5 separate regions of the Homo sapiens genome follow, and regions 1, 3, 4 and 5 are each linked to region 2. Evidence: promoter capture Hi-C in 16 types of primary human blood cells and fetal thymus (Javierre and others, 2016). All regions are on one chromosome and are shown on one strand. Each heading gives the region's core, a stretch centred on a gene start or on the middle of the fragment in contact. The rest is flanking DNA. Distances are from core to core; before and after follow the strand shown. Region 1 has its middle 6.1 kb from the start of COMMD3. Region 2 holds the start of MIR1915HG (MIR1915 host gene). Region 3 has its middle 39 kb from the start of COMMD3. Region 4 has its middle 2.3 kb from the start of TRN-GTT2-3. Region 5 overlaps LOC105376447 (a long non-coding RNA gene).

Region 1 (4,368 bases), core at 350-2,849, 810 kb after region 2:
ATGACTATTTTTATTCAAAGAATGGCGCAATATTCTTATAATACTCAGAGAAGTACTGGCTACTCTCCTATTATTATATTTAGCTGGAATGATTTAAAATTTTTGGCTAACATATAACTATGCCTAAGAACCTGATGACATTTCTATGTAAAGTTTTTTTTTTTTTAAAAAACCATCTTAGGAATCATATTGAATATGTTTAAATCTAGCCAAGTTTTTATCTTTATACTTTTCTTAAACTTTAATACCATAAAAGAAAGCTAAGATAAAAAGCTTAAGCAAACACAGTTAGATTGTCTTTATACTATTTATAGCAATGGACAGATACTTAAAGCTTACTTAGCTAAAGATTTAAGTCTGTTACTTTATGACATATGCTTTCCCCCAACCCCTGTTAACACGGCAGGATGTTTGCAAAATGACTACTCTCCTGTAGTGACTCTTGATTTTAACCTAACAGACTATCATTATGACTCAGTTTGAACATTTGTCATCATAGATGTCATAGTTTCTACAAACAGACAAATATTGATCATAGCAACTTTTAGAAATAGAATAAAACCAAAATGAAATTAAAATTAATTTAAAAGTATTCGTTTGAAAACACTCTTTTAGGTTTCTAGAAGCACTTTAATTATTGGTTAAACTGACTTCTAAACATCTGTATTTTATATTTTTATTTATGTTCATCTTGCTACAAAAATAATTTAAGGCAACTTTCAAAAGTATATAAAAACATATGTAAGAATATTATTTTCCTTCTATTATAATTGACAAGTGCAAAATCAATTTTTTTCCAACATTTCCAGTATACACTGTTGAAAGTTCTTTATAAAGAAGAATGTATATTGCTATTGAAACTTATAAAACAAAATATGTATGTCTTTATTGATACTTTTGGTCTTATAAAACTATTTTTTATTTCAATTCATAAACATTTTAATTATTGTTTAAGCAAAAATAAAAGTTTTCTTATAGATCTATCAACTACTCACCTATATATCACAGCTAGGCCTAATTTAAAATTTTCTTTCATTTTCAAATTCTAAGAAAACCATTTGAAAATTCAGTTTTCTTAGGGCCTTGTTTACCCACATATTTCCATCTACATTGTTATTCTTTAGCAAATTTCTCCTGTTTTTGGTCTGTAATTTATAGAGCACTAAAAGTCAAATAAAAGTTGCCAATTATCTGATTAATTTTGATTTAGAATACTGCTGCTCTAAATGATCCGGCCTATTTCTGTTAGCATTAAAAAAAAAGAAAAAAGAAAAAAAGAAAAGAAAGTTGAGTAATTACGCCAGTAATTCAGGTCCAAGTTTCTAATTACATGGACTAAACTGACTATATAAATACAATTCTCCCTTTCACCTGTTGCTAGTCATTATTTTCTTGGTGTTTTGTTACATTAAAAAGATTTTATAAAACTTGCCTCCCCATCCCCTTTCATAAAATATAGATTAAAATGCTTACACAAAGAAAATTAATTTTGAAAATAACATTTGAGAGAGTTAGAAAAACATTTATGTTTTAACCTTAATAAAACAATGAAACAAAAGTTCAGGGAAAAACTGAGTATATGGGAAGAAACACAGTGGAAAAGTTTAATCTATTTTTTTAGGTGCTTGTTTTCTCAAAACTCTGTAAAACTACTTTCTAAACATTCACCACGGTGTAAAAATCAGCTACGTATAAACAATTCAAAGTATTTTCTGAATAGTTCTAGCTATGTAACAAATGTGAAAAAGCTGAACACAATTATTCTACTAGGATTTTTAAAAATGTAGTTTTTAGACTGACTTATCCATAAAATGGCTTCAAGTCTATATTTAATTTGAAAAGGGGGATAAAATCAGTATTCTGTTGAATATAACAACCATAATAGAAAAGTTAAATTCTTTTTTTTTGAGACAGAGTCTCACTCTGTTGCCAGGCTGGAGTGCAATGGCACGATCTTGGCTCACTCAACCTCCGACTCCCAGGTTCAAGCAATTCTCCTGCCTCAGCCTCCCTAGTAGCTGGATTACAGATGCATGCCACCACGCCTGGCTAATTTTTGTATTTTTGGTAGAGACAGCGTTTCACCATGTTGGCCAGGATGGCCTCGATCTCCTGACCTCATGATCCACCCACCTCGGCCTCCCAAAGTGCTGGGATTACAAGCGTGAGCCACCGCGCCCGGCCCAAAATGTTAAATTCTTAACCAGTATCATTTTAAATATTGTACACAATTAAAAATATTAAAACACTTATCTAGGCTTTCATTGCCATGTAAGCTCTTTTGAAATATTAATTTTGGTTTAAATGCTTACTTTAAATGAGTTAAAAGTACTTTAGCTGTAAAGTCTCCTTAACTGTTTATAATGTATTTAATGCAAATCATCCCTTCTTATATACTAACTTCCATTCTAAAATGCTTCATTTGACAAGTGAATATAGTTACATTTTTCAGTTTATAAGCAATTATACTGTTACTTTGGTTTTAATCTACAAAAACCTTTATTTTTGTTTTCATTTTTGTTTGTAAAATTATAGTTCCTTAAACAAAATATACTTATTTGTACACATTTTAACATGTAAAAAGCATGTTCTCAAAATACAAACTTGAAAAAGTTACTGGCTTTCAACAATAATATCCCACAGCATAGGCCCATTTGTTCCATTTTTTGCTGGAATTCGTGAAACCAACCCAAACTCCAATTTCTAAGGTATGAAAAAACACAGAGATTCCAAATCCAGACCTAAAAAACGAAGAGACTCTGTTAGACATTCTCTGCTGTTGTAGTCTAAATGTAGGACATCTTGAAACTGATTAGATTCTGGACAAAACAGATGATCTTTCAGTCTTTTCCAAGCCTTACTAATGAAGCTTAGTTGAATTCATTGTAGCTAAAAGAATCTTGGATTGTGTCACAGAAAATAAACACTAAATAAGCTTTCTGTGACACTTCTCAGGTCCTTTCTCTCTTCCTTCCTCTTCCTCTTTCCCCCCTTTCTCTCTCTTCTTCCCTCCTTCCCTCCCTCTTTTTAAAGATATAAAACAATTTAAAGGACTGTCTGTGTACACATGGAAGAATTAGATACAGTCATCAATGTAAACTTGTTTCATGTCTCTTCTTCACTTTACCCTCCTACAGCTAAGCCATGGGCCATCCTGGCTGATACCAGATCAATGATATAGGAAACTGAAGTGGTGACGTTTATAATTTTAGTACAGAAAAAAAAATCAACCTGCTGTTGAGGAGGTAACTGTGCTTATTATCTAAATGGTCTATTTGATGGAATTTATTAGGTGATTGGCCAGTTCCTAATTTTCATATAAATTAACTGGTGAAGATAGAAATTATGTGATTTAAGAATTGAACTTGCTTTTTATAATCCATACAAAAGATAAGTGAATCATTTAAATCACTTACGGAATTTAAAGGAAAATTATTTTTTATTTGTCTGTGCAGAGAAATTCTAAGACACATAATGCAACCTGTTCTTTTCTCATTAAATGTTACATGGAGTATGACTGCTTTCTTTCATTTCTTCCTAACTTCCTTCCTTTAACTTAAAATTTGCCTTCATCTTTTGCCAAATTACATTTGTTTATTTTCATTTCTTTTTTACAAATCGATTTCTCATTTCTTCTTAGATGAAGACTTCACAATTTTGGTCTTTACAACTCAGATATTCCCCATGTGACATTAACTGCTTTGCTTAAAAATAAGGGATCAAACTTCCTAAAATACGTTTCAACATGCTACGCTGAAGTCCTAAAGAGTAGACATGACTTTTCTAATATCCACGAAATCCTTTTAAAACTGTGGACTGGTTAGATACAAAGATTTGATATTTAAAGTTATAATTTCATTCTTAGGTCTGCTCCTTTAATTTTGCCATTATCTTATACTCACTCAAGTAGCTAACAAAATCATGGCATGACAACACTGATGACAGCTCCCAAATTTCACTTTAGAAATTAAATAGTATTTTCTTGCCAAGATTTTGACTACAGAGTTTCTTATTTGCAAAGTTTAACAAAATTATGGTTTTCTAGGCCAAGGTGTGCAGATTACTTGAGGTCAGGAGTTTGAGACCAGCCTGGTCAACATGGCAAAATCCTGTCTCTACTGAAAATACAAAAATTAGCTGGGTGTGGTTGCATACACCTGTAATCCCAGCTACTTGAGAGGCTGAGGCATGAGAATTGCTTGAACCCAAGAGATGAAGGTTGCGTGAGCTGAGATCATGCTGCTGCACCCAAGCGACAGAGTGAGACTCTGTCTCAAAAAAAAAAAAAAAAAAAAAAAAGAAAAAATTACGGTTTTCTAATTTCAGGAAATGTTGTGAGATCTTATATAATAAACTCAATTTCTCAGT
Region 2 (4,343 bases), core at 1,327-3,826:
CGCTTGCGGTTTGCAACCCCTGGGGTGGGTCTGACCCCGCGCGGCACTTGCCCAGGCGAGCTTCCCTCGTCGCGGCCCGACCCGCGCGCGGACTCGGCTTCCCCAGGTCAGGACCCACTAGGTGGGCCGCTCGGCCCCAAGCCTGGCAGGGCGGAGCCTAGGCCGCGCGCCCCGGGGTTGGAGGTTCCCACGGAGCCGGGAAACTGCGCGCCCCAGGTCCGCAGGCCGCCTCCCTTCCCTCGCGCCCTCGCACCCGCCCTCTGCTCTGCCGCTCCCGGTCCTGGGTGTGCGGGAGTCCCGGGGGTCCCTCTCCTGGACGCAGAGGAGGAATTTGGAGCAAAAGGAAGGGAATTTACTGCGGATGGCACCGGAACCTGAATTGACTTGTGCGTTTCCTGCTCTGGGCACGTAGGTTTCCCCTAGGAATCTGGAGTTCGCTGAGGACACTTAATTCCAAGAGATGATGGGTTCACATAAACATACCATTTAGTTAAGAAAAATATTTAAAATAAAGAAAAAAGAAAAACTGAACTTCGATCTTCTTCTCCACGTTCCCTGGTGTCACCAAATAAACAAAGCATTCGGACGAGAGTGGGCTGCTGGGGGCTCGGGAGGTGCGCGAGACAAGGTTACCCTGCGGGTCCGCCACTGCCCCCGGCCTCCAGCACTGCACTGCCCACGAGTTTGCGGGGTGTGAGCGCCGAAGGAGAACCCCGGACCGCCCAGTCTCAGCCTAAAAACTTGGATCCAAGAGTCCTACGGTTGTGGATGTGCCAGTCCTCCGCGACCCTTTCCTGCTGGCCTTCTGCTTTTTATAAACGAAAATAAAAGTTTGATTTAGGCTTAAAGAAATGTCATTCTGGTCGTTCCTCCCTGAAGCGGGACTTACTCAACCTCATATACTCGCCCGGAATTTTCAATCTCGCCTGTCGAAATCGCTAGCTGCGCATCCGCGGAAGAAGTCCTGGATGAGAGGTAGGGTGAAGGGATCAAGCAGATAGCAGCAGGCATCAGCACACTCCGGCCGTTCCGGACGGTCAGGCCCGCCGCTACAGGGAGAAGTGCGGCGGATGGAGCCAGGGCTGCGGGTTGCGCGCGGGCTGGGAACCCGGTGGTGCCACCTTAAGAGTCGGGTCCGCGCAGCGGCTGCGGAGGCGCCCGGCACCTGCAGGGGGCGCTGCTGCCCCGTGGTTTCTCCCGCGCCGCCGCGTGCAGCGGGCCTGGCAGCTCCGGGGCCCCGGTCCCCGGAGGGGGTGGGGACGCTGGGGGAGGAAGGGAGCGAAGTGCAGCCGTTAGGTAACGAACCCGAACCCTCCCGGATTCAGAAGCGGCCTCAGTGAGGCGTTTGCTGGAGGGAGCTTTCCATCATTCGGCCGCGAGAGGAAACGTGGGGAGGCGCCCTCCCCTGCCCCCACCGCCTGCCTTCCTGCCTCCCTCCACCTCCGCTCCCCGACCCCGACCGTGCTTCCCAGACCCTTTGTTCTCGAGGTTGGGAACGGCTGGGTGGGGGTTCCCCGGGGAAGAGGTCCCCCGCGCCGCTCGGAGGGGAAGGGACTGTCGCCTGCCCCGCACCCCAGCCCTCCCCAGTGCCGTCCCCCTTTCCCCCGGCCCCTTCCATCGCGTCCACGCGCTTCCGTTCTCACTCGGACTCCCCCAACTCCCGAGCTCCGGCTCCCCAGCCTGCACGGTCTGCAAGCCCGCCTCCCTTCCCACTTCCCCGCCACCTCTGAGGTCCCCGGGAAGAGGGGAGGAGAGGGAGACGTGTGGGGGAGGAGAAACCACAGAGCCTTCTCGGCGCGGAGCATTCCCAGGGACCCTTCCAGGCCCCGACCCCTGGGACCCGCTGCAGAGGCAGGGCTTTCCCGGCGCCGCCGCAGGTCGCTAGGGCCGCCCCCGCCGCGTCGCCCTGGGGCCCACGGGTGCACGGCCCGGGCAGCAAGGCAAGGTGCGGCCTCTCAGCGCCAGGACCCGAGACCCCCAGCTGGAGAGAAGGGGACACCGTGGTCCGCGCCCTGGGGAGGCTAATTGCACACGAACGCCCCCCTCTTCCCCGCCCCCCACCGTACCCTCTGCAGCGCCACCCGCGTCGCCTCTCCGCCGTGCGCCACCCTGAGGGCTCCCGCGATTGCATCTTCTTGAGCACAGTTACCAATGCGTTCAGCTTCGTTTCTTACTCGGATGGAGACATCGCGGAGGGAAGCGAGGGGACAGGGATGCGGTAGTAGGGGAAAGGTGGGGCGGGAAACCGAGCAGAGAGGTGGGAGACTTGGCTGAGGCAATGGCACCAGGCAGGGCCGCCCGGAGTCCCGAGTCCAGGTCCGCGAGGCAGGCCCCGGTGCAGCCGCGCCCCGGCCGAACCCTACATGTCCTCTGTACTGTGGACACGAGTCCGCGGAGCGCCAGTCACACCCCCGCACCCCTGCAAGCTCCCGCCGTAGAGGGGGCTCGGCACCATCCTGGTCACAAAGTACGTGCCCCCACCCCCCACCCCCAGGTGAAGAGGACGCAGCCCGGCGCCGTCAGCTCCAGGCTGCCTGGAGCCCCCTCCGGCCTCTCGGCGCGACCCTGGTCCTCAATGGCTCGTCGCGAGCTGCGCTAGCTGCTCTCTCGGCAGCGGGTTCCCCAGGACACACCCAGTCCCCACCCCCCGAGAGCTGGCGGCCAGCTCAGGATGCCAGGCGGCCAGGCGGGCGCCCTGCCAAATTCCGCGTTCCTCTCCAGGAGACGGGGAGTTGCGTCCCAGGCTCGGGAAAGCCCGCAGTTCGGGCTTGGGACTCGCTTACAAAGCCCCCCAAGGCGCCAGGGACGCCTCTGCAGGTTGAATTCCTGCTCCGTATCACTTCAATTTTAATTAATCTTTTAAAACACCGCTGTCACGTCGCTTGCAGAAAATTAATCAAACTTGAATCCTTGTTGCATAGCAAGAATTTCGATCCGAGTCTTTTAAAAAGGACTTGACTTTGCAAAGTCACGTCTTTTACAGTTCCCTCATTCCCCCTTTAGCAAGGGAAATACTGCAAAAGTCAAGACATGTTTGTTTGGTTCTTTCTATCTTCAAAATGAAACTTTGCTTATTTCTGATCTTTATTTTCCTGTCTTTGAACAAAAAAAAATAACGAGATAAATTGCCTACCTCGATTAATTCAAAGTATAATTACTTTGAATGATCTTTGTTTAAGAGCCCAGATAAACTAAGATAATCTTAATTTTAATGTGACACGACCCCTATTTTTCCTTGTGAATAATGAGAATAAAGCAGTCATTAATTAATACCAAGATATCTCCATAGAAGATGGTATCTGTTCTCGCTGAGACACTGAAACATCAGTTGTATTAGTAATTGATACTGTATAATTGAACATGAAGATAGCCGTCTATTTTTAACCTCCAAGCTCAGAGTTTATTTGGTGATTATTGAGCTCCTAATAATTAATTTTTTTCCTTCTTACTGCATAAATAATTCTTACGACTCCCAGTTCCCATGCAATGCAGAGGCTTCTCATTAAAACCTACCCCTCAAAATATAAGATTGTGAAGCTATATTGTGCAGCAACTCCTTCTATTTCATTATTTGTAACATATTTCCTCTATTTCATATCTTCCTGGTGCATTTCCTTTGCTGTGATTTTCCTACTAAATCTATGAGAATATAACTATAACATCTTTTACCATAGCTTTGTCTTTCTGTGATCTCTTGGTTCAGTTTAATACACAATACTTAAGACTTCAATTTTTCAAGTTACTAAAATTTGAGGATGAGTTCCACTGAAGAATCAAAAATACTTGTATAGTGAAGTTGCCATGGATTATATTCCCAACCTAACACACAGTCCACTTTAACTCACACTTTTCTGTTGTTAAAAATAGACTTTGCTCAAACACATTCCCTTTTTCCAACTTGAGTTGAAGAGAGTTCTCACAATTTCCTGGGTTAAATGTACATGCTAACACAACCTTTGACATTAAAAAACAAATTCCCCTCCCGCGTTGGAGAGAAGTCTTCCAAACAGTCATGGAAATTTAGACTGTAGCTTTAAGGTATCTAATTATTTCTTAGCCTCAGTTATTTTGGGGCATCAGAATGATCTTCACTTTTTAAGTGGAAATGGTTATGATATTTTTCTCATACATACAAAAAACTCTCTACTTATTTTTCCAATAAAGTGTCTCCCAAGTATGACATGTTGTATACCACACAAATATTCTTAGTACCTCCGCTACCAAATCCATGCATTTTCCCTGTCAGTGCTCTATCTAAAATTCTGGAAAGTATAGAGGGTTTCCACTTTTATTTCCCCCTTAGTACAATTAAAACTTTAGGTCAATATATAACGGAGTGATTC
Region 3 (4,192 bases), core at 1,646-4,145, 780 kb after region 2:
CCCAGGAGGTGGAGGGTGCAGTGAGCCAAGATCGTGCCTCTGGACTCCAGCCTGGGTGACAGAGTGAGACTCTGTCTTAAAATAAATAAATAAATAAAAATAAAAATAAAAATAAAATTGAGTGATATAGGTAGACAATAGGCATTCAGTTCATTTCAAAATGATATGAAAAATAAAATTAGATGTATATGTTACCTAAACAAAATTTTAAAAACAAATTAGTTTATATTTCACTCAGAGTTAAAGAATATACTTCTGCACCCAACCAATCCATCCATCAATAAGTACCTACTGAATATCTATTATGTACCCAGCCCTTGACTAGGCTGCTATTTGGTGATTATGTAACTATAACTAACCATAATTAAATATCAGTATATAAATATATATTCCTGAATTCAAACAGCTTATAATTTAGTTAGGTACAAACAATTAAACAGCAGAGATCATTTTAAATGAAATTAAGTTACGAAAAGCATTGTAAATTATAAATGCAGTTTCAGAAAGAAAGCAATTAATAAGTGCCAATGTTCTACCATAAAATTACAAGGAGAGGGTGAATTTCAAGTAGGCACTTAAGAGATGAATAGGATTTCCACAAGAAACTTAGAGCAAAAAGGTGGTATCAGCTGGAGGAAGAGAAAAAACAAAATAACAGGAGTGGGAGTTAACAGGGCTCACTCCCATGCAGTGAGGAGTCTAACGGGATAGGATTGAAGGTTCTTCTTGGGAGTGGGAGAAGTTACATTTCGATAGCCACAGGAGGAATTCACTGAAAAACGACACAGAGGAATTCAGATTTGACACAGAAAGGAGTAGAGGCCCACCACAGGTTCTCAAGCAAAAGAGTAACAGTGAGAGTATATTTTAAGGAAGCTTTCCACCATTGTCTTAAATAGAAGTGTAACTAATGAAATAATTAGGAGCCTCTTATTTGGCAAAGATGTTAAAGAAGACAGAAAAATAAAAGTAGAATCACTTAATTTCTGTTTTCTCAAGTTCAATTACATTGTCTTTATTCCTTCCAAAAGAATAAAGATGGCTGGGTGCGGTGGCTCACGCCTGTAATCCTAGCACTTTGGGAGGCTGAGGTGGGCAGATCATATGAGGTCAGGAGTTCGAGACCAGCCTGGCCAACATGGTGAAACCCCATCTCTACTAAAACTACAAAAATTAGCCAGGCATGGTGGCAGGTGCCTGTAATCCCAGCTACTTGGGAGGCTGAGGCAGGAGAATCACTTGAACCCGGGAAGCGGAGGTTGCAGTGAGCAGAGATTGCGTGACTGTGCAACAGAGCCAGACTCCATCTCAAAAAACAATAATAATAAAGATTTGAAAATAAAACATTAGAAGGAGAGCGAAGTCCAAAACAAGTGGGAAGAGTGTAACAAAGGACCTATTTCCACAATGCCATACGCAAAAAATGTTGATTGAGTGCCTTCTACTTGCAAAGTACTTGATATGAGGCTATGGAACATAAACCAAATCCAGTTCATGTGTCCAAGGAGCTTACAAGATAGAAGTGTTAAGGAATGTGGCTTGGTGCAGTGGCTCACGCCTGTAATCCCAGAACTTTGGGAGGCCAAAGTGAAGGAGGCCAGGAGTCTAAGATCAAACTGAGGAGCACAGAGAGATCCTAACTTTACAAAATAAAATTTTAAAAAATTAAAAATTAGCTGGGTATGGGATTCCACGCCTGTAGTCCCAGCTACTCAGGCAGCTGAGACAGGAGGGTTACGTGAGCCAGGAGTTCAAGGCTGCAGTGAGCTATACGTACACCACTGCACTTCAGCCTCGGCGACAGGGCAAGACTGTGTCTCAAAAAAAAGTGTTAAGGAATGTGTATCAGACATTTTTATAAATGTCATAACAGAGGTGCAGGTAAAATCCTGTGATCATTCACAGAAGAATAAAATCACCTTTCAGATACAGGATTCGGATCAGGTTTCATGGAAGAGGCAAAACTTTTTGTAAATCTCAAAATGGGTATGTTGTCAGAATGGAATGGCAAAAGAGCCTGGAAAAAGTAATGTTTATTCTGTGTGGTCTGTGTCTGCTAAAATTCCAGAGTTACTGTAGAGAAAGGGAGAGAATGGATTTGGGAGCCAATAGCAGTGTCTGCCACACCTGGCTCATATGTATACAGACTGCAGCAGGAAGGCAACGTCTGGCTACGATGCACAATACATGTGTGTCCTTGGTATAGCTCCTTAGCAGGAATATTCTGGCTAGTAAAATAACAGAGTTACTCAGGTGGGATAGCATGGTTGTTAACGGTGGAGGGTGTCCAGGTTCTTGGCATCTTGAACAAAGAATTCGTCAAAACGCACAAACAAAACAAGGAAGGAATGAAGGGATTACTGAAAATGAAAGTACACTCCGGCCGGGCGACGTGGCTCACGCCAGTAATCCCAGCACTTTGGGAGGCCGAGGTGGGCGGATGACGGGGTCAGGAGATCGAGACCATCCTGGCTAACATGGTGAAACCCCGTCTCTACTAAACATACAAAAAAATTAGCCGGGCGTGGTGGCGGGCGCCTGTAGTCCCACCTACTCGGGAGGCTGAGGCAGGAGAATGGCGTGAACCCGGGAGGCGGAGCTTGCAGTGAGCCGACATAGTGCCACTGCGCTCCAGCCTGGGCGACAGAGCGAGACTCCATCTCAAACAAACAAACAAAAAAGAACGTACACTCCACAGTGTTCGAGCGGGCAGCGGGAGTGAGCATAGGGGCACAAAGGCCCTGTTACAGTTTTTGTGAATTTAAATTCCCTCTACTTAGGGTACACCCTATGTAAATGAAGAGGATGAAGTGAAGTTACAAAGACATTTCCTGATTGTATGCCCTATGGAGAGGATATTTCCTGTTATAGCTGAAGTGTGAATCTGGCCTTAGCTTTCCTGCATCCAGACCCTATTTTCCCGCCTCATGGTGAATGTGTTATGAGGTTACTAAGATGGGGAAGAGAGGAGAACAGAAATGTATCTAACAGAGGGACAGACCTGAAGAAGTGGAGAATATCTTGTGAGATTTCCCCCACCTTTTTCATTCTTGGCTATGCCCTGTCGCCTGCCGAGCCTCTTTTCATATTCGGTCTGGAATGCTGAAACCTCCTTTTCCTCATTCCCTTTGTTATCTCTATATCTTGTTCCCTAGAAATAAAGATTTGAACTTTAGCATGAGCTGTACTTTTGCTACAGACCTTCTATTATCCAGCTACAGTGTTGACATACTTAATCTCCTTTAATGGGACAAGTAATGAACTCAATTAGCTGGAAAACCTCCATGCAAAGAGAAAAGACAACTCTTACCATATAATTCACAGACATTTCCCTTGATTCACATTATTCCTGCATTAAAGACCTTCTATGACCCCGAATATCAGTTGGTTACTCGCTAAAACTGACTGTAGAGCAATTTCGCCTTAAGCAGATTTACTTAACGAAACACTAATATGTAATTAACTGGACTGAGAATTTGATTTGCATACTCTCAAGGAACAATTTTTTATTATTTAAAAACAAAACACTTGACATTCTAGAAGGGGCTACAAAGACATCCCCAAAGGTCAATTAGTCCTACAACTGATTACCTAAATATTTAATAGCACTCAAACACAGTACTAAATGGGCTCTAATTTGTTTGTGAAAAGAAACAATGCCACTTTACACACGGCTGCCAAGTTTTCAGTAAACAAAGAGAATATGGTCTTGGGAAACTGATGAATCTAGTTTAAAAATGCGACAAGATCCTCCTGTGCTCCTTCCAAACATGGCAGTGATTTTCCACTAATTTTCTTCCTGATGCTTTTTTCCTTTAAGTCTACATGTTGATGCACCCCAAGGCTCAGTCTTTGAATTGGTCTCTTTCCTAGGTCGTTCTCAAGTAATCTCTAGGCTTGACAAACTTCCTCTGTATTGACAGCTCCCAATGTTATACCTATAGCTCACACCTCCTCCCTGAACTGCAGTCTCAAATATATCCCTGCCTATACAGCATGGCATGAATATCTAGCGGGCATCTCAAATTTACTGTGTCCCAAATGGAACTTCTGATTTTTCCCCCAGATAAAAACTGTAAATCCCACTCTCTTCCCCATCTCAATAAATGGTAACTCCCTCCTTCCAAATTGCTCAGGTCCAAAGCCTTGGTGTCATCCTTGGCTCTTCTCTCTTCTCCTGCACCCCCACATG
Region 4 (4,494 bases), core at 355-2,854, 730 kb after region 2:
AAAGGCAGTGTGTGGCTGTTTCTGCTTTCTGATTGGTACTATCAGAACCAAAATATTTTACTTCACGTTTCCAACCCTCTTAATTCTATTTTCCACCTTTTAAGCATATCGCAAAATTATACAACAAAATCAAGCAGCATTGCAGATTGCAAAATGTATTAAAATACTGTTGCTCCCCCCCGCCAACTCCCATTTGGAACGTTGTATTTCAGGAAAATAACTATTTCTTATTAGTTTTCTTTTATGAGAAAATCAAAGCTTTCATCTTGTGAGCTGAGAAACTTTCCCTTTGTTTCGAACAATTTGCCCAGTGCTTCGTTCGCTCATCTCTCGTGATTTACTTGTGTAGTATTCCCAAGGTCATCTGAATTTTATTTGGCTGCTTTATTTTTATATTCAGGTATTACTAAATGCATAGATGAAATCCCTATTTGTTTTGTACTAAATACAGTACAATGATTTCACACTAACATTTTGTTACTGGAAAGAAACATCAGGGAAAAAAAGCTACAGGAACATTTCTTAGTTCCAGTGCGTTGTAGTTTATTGCTAAATCTGCCCTCGTCCCTGGAATTAGCCTACACACCCACATCGAAGCATAGCACTTAAAACACACATCTCGAGGGATAAATAAAACCCAATTTGAGGAAAGAGAAGTTAAAGAAGAAAAAGGAATGATTTATACTAACTCCTGCAAATTTTTAGCACAGAAACACTGCAGGTAAACATGCTCCATTCCTATAAATACTTCAATGAAAATCGTTCCCTTTGTGTGAATGTTTCCTGGTGCCTTTTAAGGTACACTTCTAAGTTCCAAACGCTCTTTTTCTCCCTTCTTCTCTCCTCAAATAATTGCGAGTTTCCACTTGAGAACGTGAACGTGTTTAAATTTTTAACAGTCACTAAACCGCTCTGTACAGAATCCCTCCAAAAACAATCGCTATCATGATTTATAGACGTTGTAAGCGACGCGTCTTGGTCCAATCAGCATTTTGAGTTCCCGTTGCATGGTAAGACAACTTAAATTGGCTTTGGAACCAATTAGAAGCCGAGTTCCCTGAAAGCGTTGAGATGTTAAACAGCTGTGAATTCACGCCAAGCTGCACCACGCCACTTTCAACAAACTTTTGGAAGTGCACTTGAAATTTTTGAATTTGAAAAAACAATCTAGGAAATGCTTCTACAGAGTGTATGAGAAGTCTCATTTCATTAGACGATGCTGCTTTGTACTTGGTAATATTATATGTACCTGTTAATGGGAGCTAAAACTATCAGGTACTGGCTTTTCTTCTCCAAATACCAAACTGAGTGTCCTTTCCTCTGTTGTTTTTGTGACTATCCAGTTAGAACAGACTGCAACGGGTGTACTTCACTGCCCCATCATTCAATGTTTACTCTTCTGTTTAAAGTAATATTAGGAACGGTTCTACTCATGTAAATCTCTTCAGCTCCAATATCTTTTCCTCACTTCAGTCATCATACTAGCATTTGACTTCTAACAAGAGAGATAATGAGAAACAGTCGATGAGAAAAACTAACTCAGAAAGGAATATTAACTCATTCTAGGCTAAAAAATTGTCTATGTAAGTACCACTATTGGTTTTAAAACTGTCTTCAAGCCTGGTTCTGTAGTTTTTAACATTTTACATAAAATGGCTGTTTCCACGGTTACTTAGCTCTGCCTTGTTTTCCCTCTCCACTTGAAACTACTTCAAAGGAGCATATAAATGTTTAAAATATTGAATGGACTCTGAACATTTTATTCCAATGGTATATATCAAGCACATCTTTTATGCAGAATGATCACTAACAAAAATAAGGGAGAAGAATGCATTGTCATCTAAATCTTTGTGATTATCTCATCTTAGGCCATAATATTTATGTTCAGTTTTTAAAGCCAAACTAAGCCCACTGGATTAATTTTAGAAACATACATTATCTTTTCTTAATTTTAAGATAACCCAAGATAAATGAGTCCTATAGCTTCATTAGCACTTGGGTCTTTATAACTGCTAAAAGTAAAATGAACTGGGCATTTTGCCCCCTTTTTTGTGTATTATACACAACTGAACTGCAAATTTACTTTTCCTAAGAATATGCCCTATCAATGGGGCTCATCTGTGCAGATTAATGGGCATATATATTTTATTTTCTTCTTGGAGAGGAAGAGAGAAAAGCAAGAAGATCTGTGCAAATAGGATTCACCTGTCTTAACAGGCAAGCCACAATGGACCACACTGATCTAACACCTTCCAGATACCATGAATCCAAGGCTTTCAGATAATATTCTTCCAGCTTCATCCCAACAGCATAGGCAACTCACAGGGTTGCCATTAGCAGGATTGTGCATGACCTGAATTCTTCTTCATTTCTGTATTTCAGAAGTATGGTGACGGAGTCGTTAAAAACGAAAAATCCAGTTAAAAAAAATTTTTTTTAATAGCCGGGTATGGTGGCTCACACCTGTAATCCCAGCACTTTGGGAGGCTGAGGCGGGCAGGTCACCTGAGGTCTGGAGTTCAAGACCAGCTGGCCAACATGGTGAAACTCCGTCTTTACTAAAAATACAAAATTAGCCAGGCGTGGTGGCAGGCACCTATAATCCCAGCTACTCGAGAGGCTGAGGCAGAAGAATCGCTTGAACCCGGAAGGTAGAGGTTGCAGTGAGCCAAGATCACGCCATTGCACTCCAGCCGGGGTGACAAGAGCAAAAACTCCGTCTCAAAACAAAGAAAAACAAAGTTTGGAATTGTTTTTTAAATCAAGTGAGTTACAGAAGTCATCCCAATAAGTGGAAGGTGGTGGCACCAGGAAATAAGTTAAAAGACAACACTACACAGATGTCTCTAAGAGCAAGAGGAGAATTATGAAACCAATTCTCAAAACAAATGCTAATCATATTTTACAACTGATTTATGAGTAAAAGTAAATCGAACCCTTCCAACCAGCCTCAAGCTTAAAACCACGTTTCCTACTCACCAAAAGTATCCTTCTCATATAAAACTGGAGGACTAAGGTCAGTTATGTTTAACAAGCCAAAAGGAGCATCACAGAAGCTAGCATTCGACTGGGCATGGTGGCTCACAACTAGTAATCCTAGCACTTTGAGAGGCTGAGGCGGGAGGATAGCTTGACACCAGGACTTGAAGACCTGCTGGGGCAACATAGGAAGACCCCATCTTTACAAAAAATCCAAAAATTAGCTAGGTGTGGTGGTGTGTGCCTGTAGTCCCAGCTACCTGAGAAGTCGAGGCAGGAGGATCACTTGAGGCCGGGGAGGTTGAGGTTGCAGCTGCAGTCAGCTGTGATTATGCCACTGCACTTCAGCCTGGGTGACAGAGCAATACCTTATCTCAAAAAAAAAAAAAAAAAAAAAAAAAAAAAGGCAATCAGCATTAAGGTATATTAGTATATTTCTTTTTTATTATTTTTTAAAGTTGTATCACTTAGTTGGAAAATCTTGTGAAATTATTCAGATAATTATCTCTAAAAAGACATGGTTTAAGAGAAAAGCTAAAGGGGGGCAAAATAATGCATCAATAATCTGCCTGGTGGGTTCAAACAAAAATTATATATATATTTTTTACTTTGTGAACCTCTCTTTTGTATATGAAAATACTTTCAAACCATTTTTATAGCTTTAATAATGCAGAGCTAAAATTTTAATCACTGCAGATCTCTTTAGTAGAAGAGTGTTATTTGCAAACAGTATCAATGATTTCACCTGGGTCCAGACCAATACAATCTTGGATCTAGCTAGAAATGGTTGCGGGGTGGAGGGGTAAGAAGGAGAACTTTAACTTTCTTCAGTATACTGGGGAAACTTCTGCTGAAAGACCTTATGGTTATCTCAGTAAATTGGCTAAGTTGTATCTCATTTTCCATCTCCTGACTACAACGCTATTAGCATGGGAGCCACAGTCTTCAATTTTCCATGATGTGTTCACAGAAACAACTTGAGGCAACAGTTATTTGCTATTCAATCTCTACAGTAAAAATGCTGATAAATTGGCAGTCCCGCCTATCTTTCTGAACTCAGCTATTAAAAATCAACATTAAAAATTTTAGAATAGACACAAATATCCTCTTGCCATTTGCTTCGAAATAAGAAAGTAAGCAGGTGCCCAAGGAAGACTTGACTCCTCAGCTGTGACTGCCAGAGGTTGTGGGTAGGGAATAGGCCGGTCAAACAATCCACTGAGGAACCCAGAGACACAGGGGAGAATAAAACAGTGTGGAATGAATTCAACAAGGTAGGCAGATGGAGGAGGAAGAGCACTAAATATTGCATGATTCAGGGAAGTGCTCATTTATTTCCTCCTCTATAAAATTAAGAATATTTGCCCTACCTAATTAATAAGCCTATAAAAAAATAACGTGTGATTTATGTTTTTTCACCTCTAAAATGTTAGACAAATATGCCATTTAAAATTTTTAAACTCAGGCCAGACGTGGTGACTCACACTTATAATCCAGGGTTTGGGGAGGCCGAGG
Region 5 (4,124 bases), core at 1,193-3,692, 750 kb after region 2:
TGGCTGTATCACCCCTGTCCTTCCCTGAAAAGAGACATCACACCTGAGATCCAGAAATGGCTGCTCCTTTCTTTGTACCCCATTTTATCTCATTCATCATTCTAAGCCCGGCATGGTGGCTCATGCCTGTAATCCCAGCACTTTGGGAAGTCAATGTGGGAAGGCCGCTTGAGCTCAGGAGTTCAAGACAAGCCTGGCTAACTTAGCAAGACCCCATTTCTACAAAAGATAAAATAATTAGCCTGCATAGTTCCAACTACTCAGGAGGCTGAGGCAGGAGAATTGCTTGAGCCAGGGAGCCCGAGGTTATAGTGAGCTATAATCGTGCCACTGCACTCCAGGCTGGGTGACAGAGTAAGAACCCTGTCAAAGAAAAAAAAAAAAACCCACAAAACATATTATTTATTTATTTTGAGACAAAGTTTTCTCTTGTTGCCCAGGCTGCAGTGCAATGGCGTGATCTCAGCTCACTGCAATCTCTGCCTCTTGGGTTCAAGCAATTCTCCTGCCTCAGCCTCCCAGTCGCTGGGATTACAGGTGCCTGCCACCACGCCCAGCTAATTTTTGTTATTTTTTATTAGAGACGGGGTTTCACCATGTTGGCCAGGCTAGTCTCAAACTCCTGACCTCAGGTGATCCACCCGCCTCAGCCTCCCAAAGTGCTGAGATTACAGGCATGAGCCACCACACCCGGCCCACGAAACATAATTTTATCACAGTATCTATAACATTCTTTTGCACTTATTTATTCACCTGTCTGCCCCACTAGGCTATAAACTTGTGAAGGTTCAGGACCATGCATGACTCATTTTTTCATTCTCTTTGCCCAGCAGAGTGACTAATACACAGTAAGTGATGAGTGGGTATTTGATGAATACATAAATTTCAAAAAGGGTGTGGCTAAGCCCCACAAAAAGTTCAAGTAAGTTAGAAAATAAACACTGTCCATTGGATGAAAAAGTTCAGAAGTAACTGATGACATTACGCAAAGATATTTTAAGGGAGTGATGGCTTTCAGGGAGATGTAGCTGACAGTGTTTACTGCCTACCCAAAAACCATTCCTCTGTTTCTTCTTTGCTTAACTGAATTCCAGTTTGATTTAGGCATTGAGCAAATTCCCTTTGATGTGGAAATGTGGGCCTCTACCCCAGATAAAGGGTGATAATATGTCCCAGTTCTGGCTAATATGATGTAAGAGGAAATCCTTTGGTGGGGCATTTTGGAAAATATTATACTTCCTTGACGTGAGTAAGACTCACCAAGAACAAATTTTCTGTTGCCTTCCCACCCAGCAGTCAGTGTGGTTTTTGTACTTACGGCAGCCATTTTGCAACTATGATATGAAGGTCAACTGAATCACAGAGGTGATATCACTGAACCCCCAAGAAAACACTAGCAACTCTTTATCTACAGACTTCTTGTCACATAAGAAAAATGAGCCTCTGTGTTAGCTGGGTTGTCTGTTACATTCTAACTGATATAAGAAGAGAGAAAAGAGAGACAAATGAGAGACCACTGTTCTTAGTGAATATATTACAACTAGTACAGTTTGGTGGCTGCAGGATACAGAGTTTGTTTGGTAATTTTGGAAAGAGGCTGGAAATGGAAAAGCAATGGGTTACAGGGGCTTCTAATGCCAATGAAGAGAAAGGCTTTAATTTTGTTGGCAATAGGGGGCTATAGAGGTTTTGGGGTAATGTTTTGGAACTTTAAGAAGAGTGCTTTGGCAGAAATCAGCAGGGTCTATATGTGCCCAAAGAGTGATGCCTCAGAAGCAATGCATTTGGCATAATCATATTGGTATTGTCCACCACGAGAATCACTTGGTATACAAACCTGGCTCACTCAGTTCACACTGAATAAGCAAAACAATAACCACTTGGCTTCATGATGCTTTTCGACCTAAAATAAACACAAGGTATCAAAGCAAATGAAATGTTACATCTTTCCAGTGCTCCATATGAATAATCCCTGTGGAAGTTATAAGTAAACAAAACTTCTGTTCATAAAAAGTATCAATGACAGATGTAAATACTGTATAAACTCCTGCCATATAAAAGGAGAAAATGAGATCTCACATATCCTTCCACAATACCAATTCCTGACACTTAGCACAACAAATTAGACACACTTAATAATTATTACACACTAGGCTTGAGATTATTCAATAGTTTTTTAACCGTGTTTCTATAATGGTGTGGAGGTTTTTGTTTGCTCACTTTTTAAAAACATTTTCCACGATTTCATTATAGGAGAATAAATGCTCTTATACATAGTCATAGTTTCAAATATGTTTCTGTTCTTCTCATTTAAATCTACTCAGAAAACAAGCTTACAACAGAAGCCAAACTAGGAAAATCTCTGCTGTGAGTATCATATAATATTCAAACACTGCCCAGGAAAAACACTGGGGAATGGTGTTTTCTTTGCCCTCAAAGAAAAGCACGTGAACACCATCTTACAAGATTATTATTGACTAAGGAAAAGAAATGTGTCATTTGTTCATTCTTTAGACTAGGAATTGATGTTAGAGATTTTTAAATAAATTATAACAAGCTTTTAACAATCTACAAAGAACAAAAAGTGTTAATGTCTTCCCATAGTTGCCTCTGATCTTTTTATAAAGAATTGCTGTGGGCTGGGCGCAGTGGCTCATGCCTGTAATCCCAGCACTTTGGGAGGCTGAGGTGGGCGGATCAACTGAGGTCAGGAGTTCGAGACCAGCCTGGCCAAAATGGTGAAACTCCGTCTCTACTAAAAAACACAAAAATTAGACGGGCATGGTGGCAGGTGCCTTAACTGGCTACTTGGGAGGCAGAGGCAGGAGAATCATTTGAACCCGAGAGGCGGAGGTTGCAGTGAGCCGAGATCGAGTCATTGTACTCAAGCCTGGGGGACAAAAGCAAGACTCTGTCTCAAAAAAAAAAAAAAAAAGAGTTGTTGCCCCCTGGGCAGGAAGTTGTTGCCCTCTTCCTATTCCCCCTCCTTCCTTCTTTCTTTCTATCCCAAAGGAAATTACATTTTTTGAAGTTGATATGTATTCATCCTATTGATAGTACTATACTTTCACTTCATATGTATATATCCTGGCCCACATCTTTTATTTATGAAATTCATTATACATAAATTAGTAAATTCTTTCTATATAAGTTATTTATACATTTTGAATATGAATCCTTCACCAAGTACATGCCTTGAAAATATCTTCTCAGTTTATCTTGTAACATTTTATGATATCTTTTGTCATGTAAAAAGTATTTTTAAAAATTTTTATATACAGTCACATGGCACTCAACTACAGGGACATATTCTGAGAAATAGGTCCATAGGCAGTTTTGTCATGCTAACATCATAGAGTGTAATTACACAAACCTAGATGGTTTGTATATGGTACAAGCCTATTGCTCCTAGGCTGCAAACCTGTACAGCATGTGACTGTATTGAATACTGTAGGCAATTGTAACACAATGGTATTTGTATAATTAGACACATCTACACATAGAAAAGGTACAGTAAATATACAATATTATAACCTTATGGGACTATTATCATGTATTGACTAACATATCATTATTTGGAGCATGACTGTCATCCAATTGATCATTTCCTTAATGGATTGTGTATTTTAATGTTTTGTTTAAGAAATCCTTTCATACTACAAATTCTATATTTCCTTTCAATTTTTTTTGTTTTTTTTTGAGATGGAGAGTTACAGAGATAACTCTGCTGCCAGGCTAGAGTGCAGTGGCGCGATCTCGGCTCACTGCAATCGCTGCCTCCCAGGTTCAAGCGATTCTCCTGCCTCAGCCTCCCGAGTAGCTGGGATTACAGGCATGTGCCACCACAACCAGCTAATTTTTGTATTTTTACTAGAGATAGGGTTTCCCCATGTTGGCCAAGATGGTCTCAATCTCCTGACCTCGTGATCTGCCCGCCTTGGCCTCCCAAAGTGCTGGGATTACAGGCGTGAGCCACTGCGCCCAGCCTTCCAATATTTTTTTAATTCTATTTTTCTTATTTAACTTTTTAATTGATCTGAAACTGAATTTGTATGTGGGCAAAAGAAGGGATCTAATTTTATTTTTTTCTTATGAATGTTTGTTTTCTAAATAAGAGAAAATAA

The links. Contacts are between HindIII fragments. The CHiCAGO score rates a contact against its expected background, and 5 or more counts as called.
Region 1: a fragment that was not itself captured here is called in contact with the fragment with the promoter of MIR1915HG in region 2 in 5 of 17 cell types (total B cells, fetal thymus, non-activated CD4 T cells and 2 more); the score reaches 11.4 in total B cells.
Region 3: a fragment that was not itself captured here is called in contact with the fragment with the promoter of MIR1915HG in region 2 in 1 of 17 cell types (total B cells); the score reaches 5.1 in total B cells.
Region 4: a fragment that was not itself captured here is called in contact with the fragment with the promoter of MIR1915HG in region 2 in 4 of 17 cell types (non-activated CD4 T cells, naive B cells, fetal thymus and 1 more); the score reaches 8.1 in non-activated CD4 T cells.
Region 5: a contact is called between a fragment that was not itself captured here and the fragment with the promoter of MIR1915HG in region 2, in 3 of 17 cell types (total B cells, fetal thymus and naive B cells). The highest score is 9.2, in total B cells.

Annotation. Positions count from the first base shown.
Region 1 is chr10:22,308,147-22,312,514 of GRCh38, forward strand. No RefSeq gene overlaps it. Among named protein-coding and RNA genes, the nearest start is that of COMMD3, 6.1 kb to the right of the region's middle. The HindIII fragment of the contact is 2,535 bases long and covers 333-2,867 here.
Region 2 is chr10:21,494,684-21,499,026 of GRCh38, forward strand. It overlaps MIR1915HG (MIR1915 host gene), which reads right to left and starts at 2,577. Exons shown (of 2, transcript NR_160800.1): 1 at 2,067-2,577; 2 at 1-1,262. MIR1915 (microRNA 1915) reads right to left here and starts at 1,958; the gene lies at 1,879-1,958. RefSeq lists an enhancer at 1-633 and silencers at 145-244, 1,058-1,497, 1,548-1,597, 1,808-2,057. The HindIII fragment of the contact is 8,649 bases long and covers 1-4,343 here.
Region 3 is chr10:22,275,752-22,279,943 of GRCh38, forward strand. No RefSeq gene overlaps it. Among named protein-coding and RNA genes, the nearest start is that of COMMD3, 39 kb to the right of the region's middle. RefSeq lists an enhancer at 4,015-4,192. The HindIII fragment of the contact is 4,043 bases long and covers 875-4,192 here.
Region 4 is chr10:22,229,629-22,234,122 of GRCh38, forward strand. No RefSeq gene overlaps it. Among named protein-coding and RNA genes, the nearest start is that of TRN-GTT2-3, 2.3 kb to the left of the region's middle. The HindIII fragment of the contact is 2,697 bases long and covers 257-2,953 here.
Region 5 is chr10:22,245,903-22,250,026 of GRCh38, forward strand. LOC105376447 (a long non-coding RNA gene) reads right to left here. Exons shown (of 2, transcript XR_001747390.3): 2 at 1,518-4,124. LOC124902391 (a long non-coding RNA gene) reads right to left here and starts at 181. Exons shown (of 2, transcript XR_007062086.1): 1 at 1-181. The HindIII fragment of the contact is 225 bases long and covers 2,331-2,555 here.